2 separate regions of the Homo sapiens genome follow, and region 1 is linked to region 2. The links are contacts of gene promoters, found by promoter capture Hi-C in human tissues and cell types (Jung and others, 2019). All regions are on one chromosome and are shown on one strand. The core of a region is centred on a gene start or on the middle of the fragment in contact, and the rest is flanking DNA. Distances in the headings are between cores, read along the strand shown.

Evidence for each region. Contacts are between HindIII fragments. The study calls those that stand out against the background at their distance.
Region 1: a contact is called between a fragment that was not itself captured here and the fragment with the promoter of PPP2CB in region 2, in 1 of the 25 tissues and cell types used here (mesendoderm cells).

Annotation. Positions count from the first base shown.
Region 1 is chr8:30,682,514-30,686,576 of GRCh38, forward strand. GSR (glutathione-disulfide reductase) reads right to left here. Exons shown (of 13, transcript NM_000637.5): 10 at 1,575-1,686. Among named protein-coding and RNA genes, the nearest start is that of GTF2E2, 26 kb to the left of the region's middle. The HindIII fragment of the contact is 3,449 bases long and covers 1-3,250 here.
Region 2 is chr8:30,811,116-30,815,117 of GRCh38, forward strand. PPP2CB (protein phosphatase 2 catalytic subunit beta) reads right to left here and starts at 1,703. Exons shown (of 7, transcript NM_001009552.2): 1 at 1,205-1,703. The coding sequence starts at 1,306. RefSeq lists silencers at 957-1,016, 1,077-1,186, 1,267-1,326, 1,357-1,576. The HindIII fragment of the contact is 3,135 bases long and covers 778-3,912 here.

The DNA of each region.
Region 1 (4,063 bases), core at 276-2,775, 130 kb before region 2:
CATCTGCAAAATATCTCATTATATATATGCAAATATTCCAAAATCTGAAACTGAAAACACTTCTGGTCCCAAGCATTTCAGATAAGGGATGCTCAACCTGTCTGGCCCCACTCCCAAAAGACACATTCACAAGTTCTCACTTACCTGGCAGTTAATCTACTTAATGAAGATATTAGCTTTTTAATACAATATTTATGGAACAAGCTATATTAGTTTTCAGCATCTTTAGTTCTATTTTATAACCCTAAAGTGCTGGAATTACAGGCATGAGCCACTGCGCCTAGAATCTTTATTATTATTATCATTATTATTATATTATTATTTTTTTTTTTTAGACAGAGTCTCGCTCTTGTTGCCAGGCTGGAGAGCAGTGGCGCCATCTCAGCTCGCTGCAACCTCTGCCTCCCGGGTTGAAGCAATTCTCCTGCCTCAGCCTCCCAAGTAGCTGGGACTACAGGCGTGTGCCACCACGCCCAGCTAATTTTTGTATTTTTAGCAGAGATGGGGTTTCACCATGTTGGTCAGGAAGGTCTCGATCTCTGGACCTCGTGATCTGCCCACCTCGGCCTCACAAAGTGCTGAGATTACAGGCGTGAGCCACCGTGCCCAGCTGAATCTTTATTTTTTTAATACAGACAACATCTCACTATGTTGCCCAGCCTGGTCTCAAACTACTAGACTCAAGCGATCCCCCAACTTCAGCCTCTGAAAGTGATGGGAGCCACCACACCTAGCCAAGAGCAAGAACTTTCTAAAGGAGCTAAAAGGGTTTGGGTGTGTGACTGGTGTAGGTTTTCATCCTGATATAAGGCCCTGGGACACGCTGGAATCGCTGATGAGGTTCTAGGTACAGACTGAAAGTAGATCAAGTGATCATTAATGGATAGAGATGGGACAGAGCTTGCAATGGTGCTTAGGAAGCGGGCTGAGGTGTGGGATGCCGGAGAGAAGGAAATCAGTCTTGGTTGTATCAAGACCAGTCATACAAGAATGACAATCTAGGCCATGTGTGGTGGCTCATGCCTGTAATCCTAACATTCTGGGAGGCTGAGGCAGGCAGTCTGCTTAAGCACAGGGGTTCAAGACAACATGGTAAAACCCTGTCTCTACAAAAAATGCACCTGTGATCCTAGCTACTTGGGAGTCTGAGGTGGGAGGATCACCTGAGCCCAGGAAGGTTGAAACTGCAGTGAGCCCGTGATCATGCCACTGCACTCCAGCCTGGGTAACAGAGTGTCTCCAAAAAAAAAAAAAATGCCAATCTAAATTACTTCTTCCAAATGCCACTTCCTTCCACTGCCACCAAGCACAAGTCTGCTCCTAAGAGAGTTCCGCAACGGGTGATCATATTGTCTACATGAAAACTTCAGTCTGTGCTAAGCATTTTAAGTCTTTTATTCAGATAATGTCAGGTATCCAACCAATATCTATTTCAACACATTGTACCATTTTGACAATATAAAGACACTCATCCTTTTAACTTTGCTTAAGCAGACTGCAGATTTGACAGTGAAGAGCCAGATGGATCATGTAACACGCAGACCCTCCCTCACCAAGAAGGGAAGAGACCTTACCTGGAGTAAGAAGAGCTTTTCCACATACATCCCCAACTGCATAGATGCCTTTGACGTTGGTATTCTGGAATTCGTCTACGATGATATGACCCTTGTCATCGGTTTGAATCCCCTAAAATTACAAAGAGATATCATGTAACCACTTGGCCCACCTACTAAAAAAGGTAGATCAAACCTCTGGATCTCCCTTCCTCATTTCACATGGGAACTGCAGCCAGAATCTCCAAGAAACCATGAGACTCAGCTGCAACACGAAAGGCATTTACAGCTGGCAAGTTTCAAGCTGGGTACAGTGGGCCCACACCTGTAACCCCAGAACTTTGAGAAGCCGAAGAGGGAGGATCCCTTAAGCCCAGGAGTTTGAGATCAGCTTGGGCAACACAGTGAGACCCTGCCTCTGTTAGAAATTAGAAAAAAAAAAGTTGGCAAGTTTCATATCTTGCTTAACATAAAAGGTAGTATTTTATCCACTTTTGAGATGTTTTAACAGGATTTGACATTGCAATGTACAATTCAACTGGCCAGGCAGACATGAAGAGGATCACTCAACTATCAGGTGTGCCACTTGGAATCCCTCTGGAGTCCAGCTTTTCAACTTGTCCCATGGAAGCACTGCTCCTGAGGAACACTGACTCAAGCAGTCACCAAAAGCATATCTATGTTTATTTAGTTTTTTTTTAGAGACAGGGTCTCGCTCTGTTACCCAGGCTGGAGTGCAGTGGTGTGATCATGGCTCACTGCAATCTTGACCTCCTGGGCTTAAGCAATCCTCCTGCTTAGCCTCCCGAGTAGCTAGAACTAGAGGCATGTGCCATCACACCTGGATAATTTTTTAACATACATTTATTTATTTATTTATTTATTTATTTATTTATTTATTTATTTATTTATTTATTTATTGAGATGGAGTCTCGCTCTGTCGCCCAGGCTGGCGCGATCTAGGCTCTCTGCAAGCTCTGCCTCCCAGGTTCACGCCATTCTCCTGCCTCAGCCTCCCGAGTAGCTGGGACTACAGGTGCCCGCCGCCACACCCAGCTAATTTTTTTGTATTTTTAGTAGAGACGGGGTTTCACCATGTTAGCCAGGATGGTCTTGATCTCCTGACCTCGTGATCCACCTGCCTCGGCCTCCCAGAGTGTTGGGATTACAGGCGTGAACCACCACGCCTAGCCTTTTTAACATTTTTTTATAGAATAGGTCTTGCTGTTTCCCAGGCTGACCTCAAACTTCTGGCCTCAAGTGATCCTCACGCCTAGGTCTCCCAAAGCACTGGGGTTACAGGTGTGAGCCACCATGCCTGGCCAAAAGCACATTTCTATGAAGCTTACCATTTTGTCTTTAAAAATCCAAGCAACTTTTGCACTCTACTCTAAAACATACTGATGTTTTTTTCAGACTCCCAGAAGAAAAGTAAAAGCAAAACAAAACAAAAACACATATTGATGTTTCCCTTAACCAAAAATATTTTCCTATATGTAGTCAAATTTTTGCTTTAAGAAGACATGTTATGCTTATCATGTGGCTTTGCAAATCCTAAGTATATATGAGAAGTAGAGATATGGCAGAAGTAGGAAGTAAGTAGCCACAGAGCTTAAGAGTACAACTGGCCAGGCGCAGTGGTTCAGGCCTGTAAATCCTAGCACTTCGGGAGGCCAAGGCGGGCGGATCACCTGAGGTCAGGAGTTTGAGACCAGCCTGGCCAACATGGTGAAACCCTGTCTCTACTAAAAATACTAAAAATTCGCCAGGCATGGTGGTGCATGCCCACCTACTTGGCAAGTCCCAGCTACTTGGGAAGCTGAGGCAGGAGAATCACTTGAACCCAGGGGGCGGAGATTGCAGTAAGCTGAGATGGCACCACTGACTCCAGCCTGGGCAACAGAAAGAGACTCTGCCTCAAAAAAAAAAAAAAAAAAAAAAAAAAAAGAGTACAACCTTTGGTACAGACAGACCAAAATTCAAATCCTAGCTCTGCAACTTACCGGTTATGAGACCTTGTATAACCACCTGTTTATCAACAAATATTTAAGCTTCTATTACAAATGAGACTTTGACTTCATCACTGAGAATACCATGGTAAGACAGACATTCTCCCTACACCATAGAGTTTACAGCCCAGTAAATTATCTAGTATCTCTGTGCTCCTGGCTTCCTTATACCTTGCCGGTTGTTGGCAAGATTAAATTAGATTAGTAACATGTTGACAAGACCTAGCACATAGTAATCACTCAATTTGCATTATATAAATATATCTTAATGTCAAATGAGACTGAACCTTTTTTTTTTGCCTCATTCTTCAAAAATTTAGCAAATATAGGCTGGGTGCAATGGCTCATGCCTGTAATCCCAGCACTTTGGGAAGCTGAGGTGGAAGGATCGCTTGAGCCCAGTTCAAAATTAGCCTGGGTAATACAGCGAGACCTTGTGTCTACAAAAATTTTTTTTAAAAATTAGCCAGGTGTGGTGGACCACGCCTGTAGTTCCTACTA
Region 2 (4,002 bases), core at 453-2,952:
AATAATTTCAGGGGTTAAGAAAACAATGGATACAGAATTTACAAAGTGAAGATCACACACTCACGATGTACAAGAACGAACTGATCACCCGCATGTTTTATTATTCTTTGGAAAAAAACTTTATATATATTAAAAACAAAAATAACTTTCTGCAAAGTGCTATCGTGCATGAAAACACACATCCCACTTATCATTTCCAGCAAACACTGTTCCCAAACTTAAGATCGGCTCTCGTTTCTGAAAATCAACACTTTACTTCCAAGAGCCACTCAACACAAAGACCAGTCACCATCTGTTTCCACCAAAGTCAACCTCTATTTTAAAAATCACAGTTGGCCATCACGCCTACCTCTCCGCAAACAAACGCTTGGCACATTCAAGAATCAGCGATTTTTTTTTTTTTTTTTTTGCTGTCGCCCAGGCTGGAGTGCAGTGGCGCGATCTCGACTCACTGCAACCAGCCTCCACCTCCTGGGCTCAAGCGATCCTCCCGCCTCAGCCTCCCGAATAGCTGGGATTACAGGCACCCGCCGTCACACCCTGCTAATTAAAAAAAATTTTTTGTGTGTGGAGACGGGGCCTCACTATGTTGCCCAGGCTGGTCTCTAACTCCTGGGCTCAAGCAATCCTCCCGCTTCAGCCTCCCGAGTAGCTGTGGCCACAGGCGTGAGCCACCACGCCCGGCTTGAGTTAGTGATTTCTGAGGTGCCCCGTTCACCTGACAAAAATTCTGCATTTATTAACAAGTTCATTAATACGCACGACATTCTGGTTAATTTTAGTTGCATTTTCAGAAACTGGTCTGAAAATGGTCCTTTTCGGACGTCGCTCTCGCTAGTCCACTCGGGAAATGCTAGAGTGGCAGGAACTCCCCAGTGGAGCGCAGGCGACCCCGACCAACCTCCTGCTTGGCTCAGGGGGCTACGTTTCCCCGCCCGTCCGCACCCGAGCCCCCCACGCCCGGGATCTGGGCAGCCGGCCGGGGGCGTGAGGCGGAGGTGGAAGGGGCAGGCGAGGGCAGCCCAACGCCCCGGGCCCTGAACCGATGGGCCGGCCGCCTAGGTGGACGCCGGAGCCGGACCCACAGCCCCGCAGGCCCCCGGTGGGCCGCGCCGGGCCAGGGGCGGACGGGACCGGGGCGGGCAGGAAAGCGGCGGCCCGTCCCAGCCCCGCGCTCCCGCACTCGCCCCCGCGGCGCCCTCACCTTCTCGCACAGCGTCCGCACTTGGTTCTCGTTCAGCTGCTTACACTCGTTCAGCTGCTCGACCCACTGGTCCAGCTCCTTGGTGAACGCCTTGTCGTCCATGGCGGCCCGATCCCGATGCGGATCCCGAGCCCCAGCCCGGCCGCCGCCCTCCCCCCTCCCCACCCGCCCCCGGCCCCGGCCCGGGCGCCGCTCCCCTCTCCCTCCGCCGCCGTCGCCAGGTCCCACAGGGGGAGGACTGAGCCGGGTAGGGCGGCCGCGGGCCCCGCGCCCCGCCCAAGCCCAGCAGGCGGCTCCGAGCGCGCAGCCTGGAGGAGACCCCCGCCCGCCCTTCCCCGCCCGGCCGCGCGCCGCGGGAGTCGGTGAAGGACGCGGTGAGGTGCCGGGGAGCGCGGCGCGGGTCCTCGGCCTAGCTCTCGCCGGACGAAGGCCGCCCGCTGCCGCTTCAGGCCCGCCTCACGCCTACCGGCCTCTCCCGACTTGTCTTTCCCCTTCTCTCGCTCTTTCTCTCCCCTCCCTCCGGGTTTCCGTCATCGCTCGGGCATTTCCGCCGGGAAAAGGCGAGCAGGCGGCGCCGCCGGGACACGGCGCCCTAGGAGCAGAACAGCGCCCTCGCGTGGCTTGGCGGAGAAACGGTCCGAGGAGGCCAGGGTCCCTCTTTTCCCCACCCTGCCCCAGACCAAGCTCTGCTGGTTCTCCCTTTAAATATCCTGATCTCTGGGAACTTTGTCCTCACTTTAGCTTCCTGCAGTACTTTGCAGCGCTCTGGACAGGGAGTTGGAAAACTTGGGCTTCCCTTAACATTGTCTCCCCAGAGTCTAGCACTCAATAGCAGGCATTCAATATTGATGGAGTAAATTAATTATTTCCAGCCTCACCTGTAGCCCCTAACATCTCGAATCCTCCCTTTCGACATTAGAAAAGTGAAATGATTGTTCTGTAGGATAATCTGTGGCCCTTCCAGCTCCAGAGCTCTTGGCTATATTTTCTGCAATGTGTACTGAGTTGTAATGATTTGTTCATTCAACAAATATTTATTGAGAGACAGAACAGGGACCCCTCTTAGGGGCCATCTAGGCACCCCCCTCCCCAAGCATGGAAATAAAGGAAAATCTTGAGTTCCCTGAAGGGACATTCCAGGCACCTAACTTCCTCAATAAGTCAATGAGCAACCTGATAAGCAAGAAGGTAATAATAGCTTAAGACAGTAGCCAAGGACGTTAGATTCACAAAATGTTTGCTTCCCTATAGAAACTAAAGACGACATATGTCCCTGAGTTGTTTTTCAGAAACCTGGACCTCACCAAATGGAAAATGGTGTCCACTGGCATGGAGATCTCAAACTACCTATCTTTGTTCTAAATTTCTTCCTGAGGAGCCTGGAAGAATTCACAAAGCTTTGCCTCCTTAACCAATTGCAAATCAGAAAATCTTTGAATCCATCTATGACCTGTGGGTCCCTGCTTCAGATATCCTGGCTTTTTAGATCAAACCCACGTATAGCCTCCATGTATTGATTTATGACTTTGCCTGTAACCTCTGCCTCCCTGCCTTTAAAAATCCTTACCTGGGCTGGGCGCAGTGGCTCATGCCTGTAATCCCAGCACTTTGGGAGGCCGAGGCCAGGAGTTGGAGACCAGCCTGCCAACATGGTGAAACCCCTTCTCTACTAAAAATACAAAAACTAGCTGGGCATGGTGGTGGGCGCCTGTAATCCCGGCTACTTGGGAGGCTGAGGCAGATGAATCACTTGAAATCGGGAGGTGGAGGTTGCAGTGAGCCGAAATCTCGCCATTGCACTCCAGCATGGGTGACAAGAGTGAAACTCTGTTTCAAAAAAAAAAAAAAAAGCACACAAAAAACCCCTTACCTGTAAACCATCAGGGAGTTGGGGTCTTAAGCATGAGCTGCCTGATTCTTCTTGCTTGGTGCAATGCAATAAATGCCTCACTTTCACTACAAACCCCAATGTCAGTGTTTGGCTTTGCCGTACTTGAGGGAGGACCTAAATTCAGTTAGGTAACATGAGCAGCTGCTAGCTGCCAGATACCTTGAATAGCATGTGCTAAATGATCATACTGTGTCTATTAAAGGTACATACTACTGCGGCTGAACCCAAGTGGAAGGTAACATCCTGTATCAGAAAGCAAGGGTTCTTGTGTTTGCTAACCCCCTAGCTATGTCCTTGGGCAATCATCAAACCTCCGTAAGCCTCAAATTCTTCATCTGTTAAAATCAATAAAAGGCCTACCTTTGTGAAGATTAAGTTTTAAAAGTGCCTGCCCAATAGTACGGTATGGGAGCGATATGTTAGTTGCCTTACCCCTCCTAGGGAACAATTACAGAAAGCTTTAGAAAAGCGGTAATTGAACTGAATTTTCAACCTTCTCTCAAGGCAAAAGCTTGAAGTTGCCTGGAGAAGAGGAAAGAAGGTCTAAGGAATTTTTTTGTGCGTGTGCCAGTAGACAAATGAGTGAAAGACCATTCATTGTCTGTTTGGAAAGCTATAAATTCTCCTAGCAACAGAAATAGATTATATTGTTGGAAATAAGGCTGGAAGAGCTCCTGCTCTCAACAGCTTGTAAATAGCAGCAAACCAGTTGAACAAAACACAAAAGGTGATGAAACAATACTGGTGAGATATCATTGCAATAGATATTACATTCTCTGAGGAGGTTAGTCTATAAGGCTTTAAAGGAGGCTGGGCCAGGTGCAGTGGCTCACACCTGTAATCCTAGCCCTTAGGAGGCTGAGGTGGGAGGATCACTTGAGCTCAGGAGTTCAAGACCAGCCTGGGC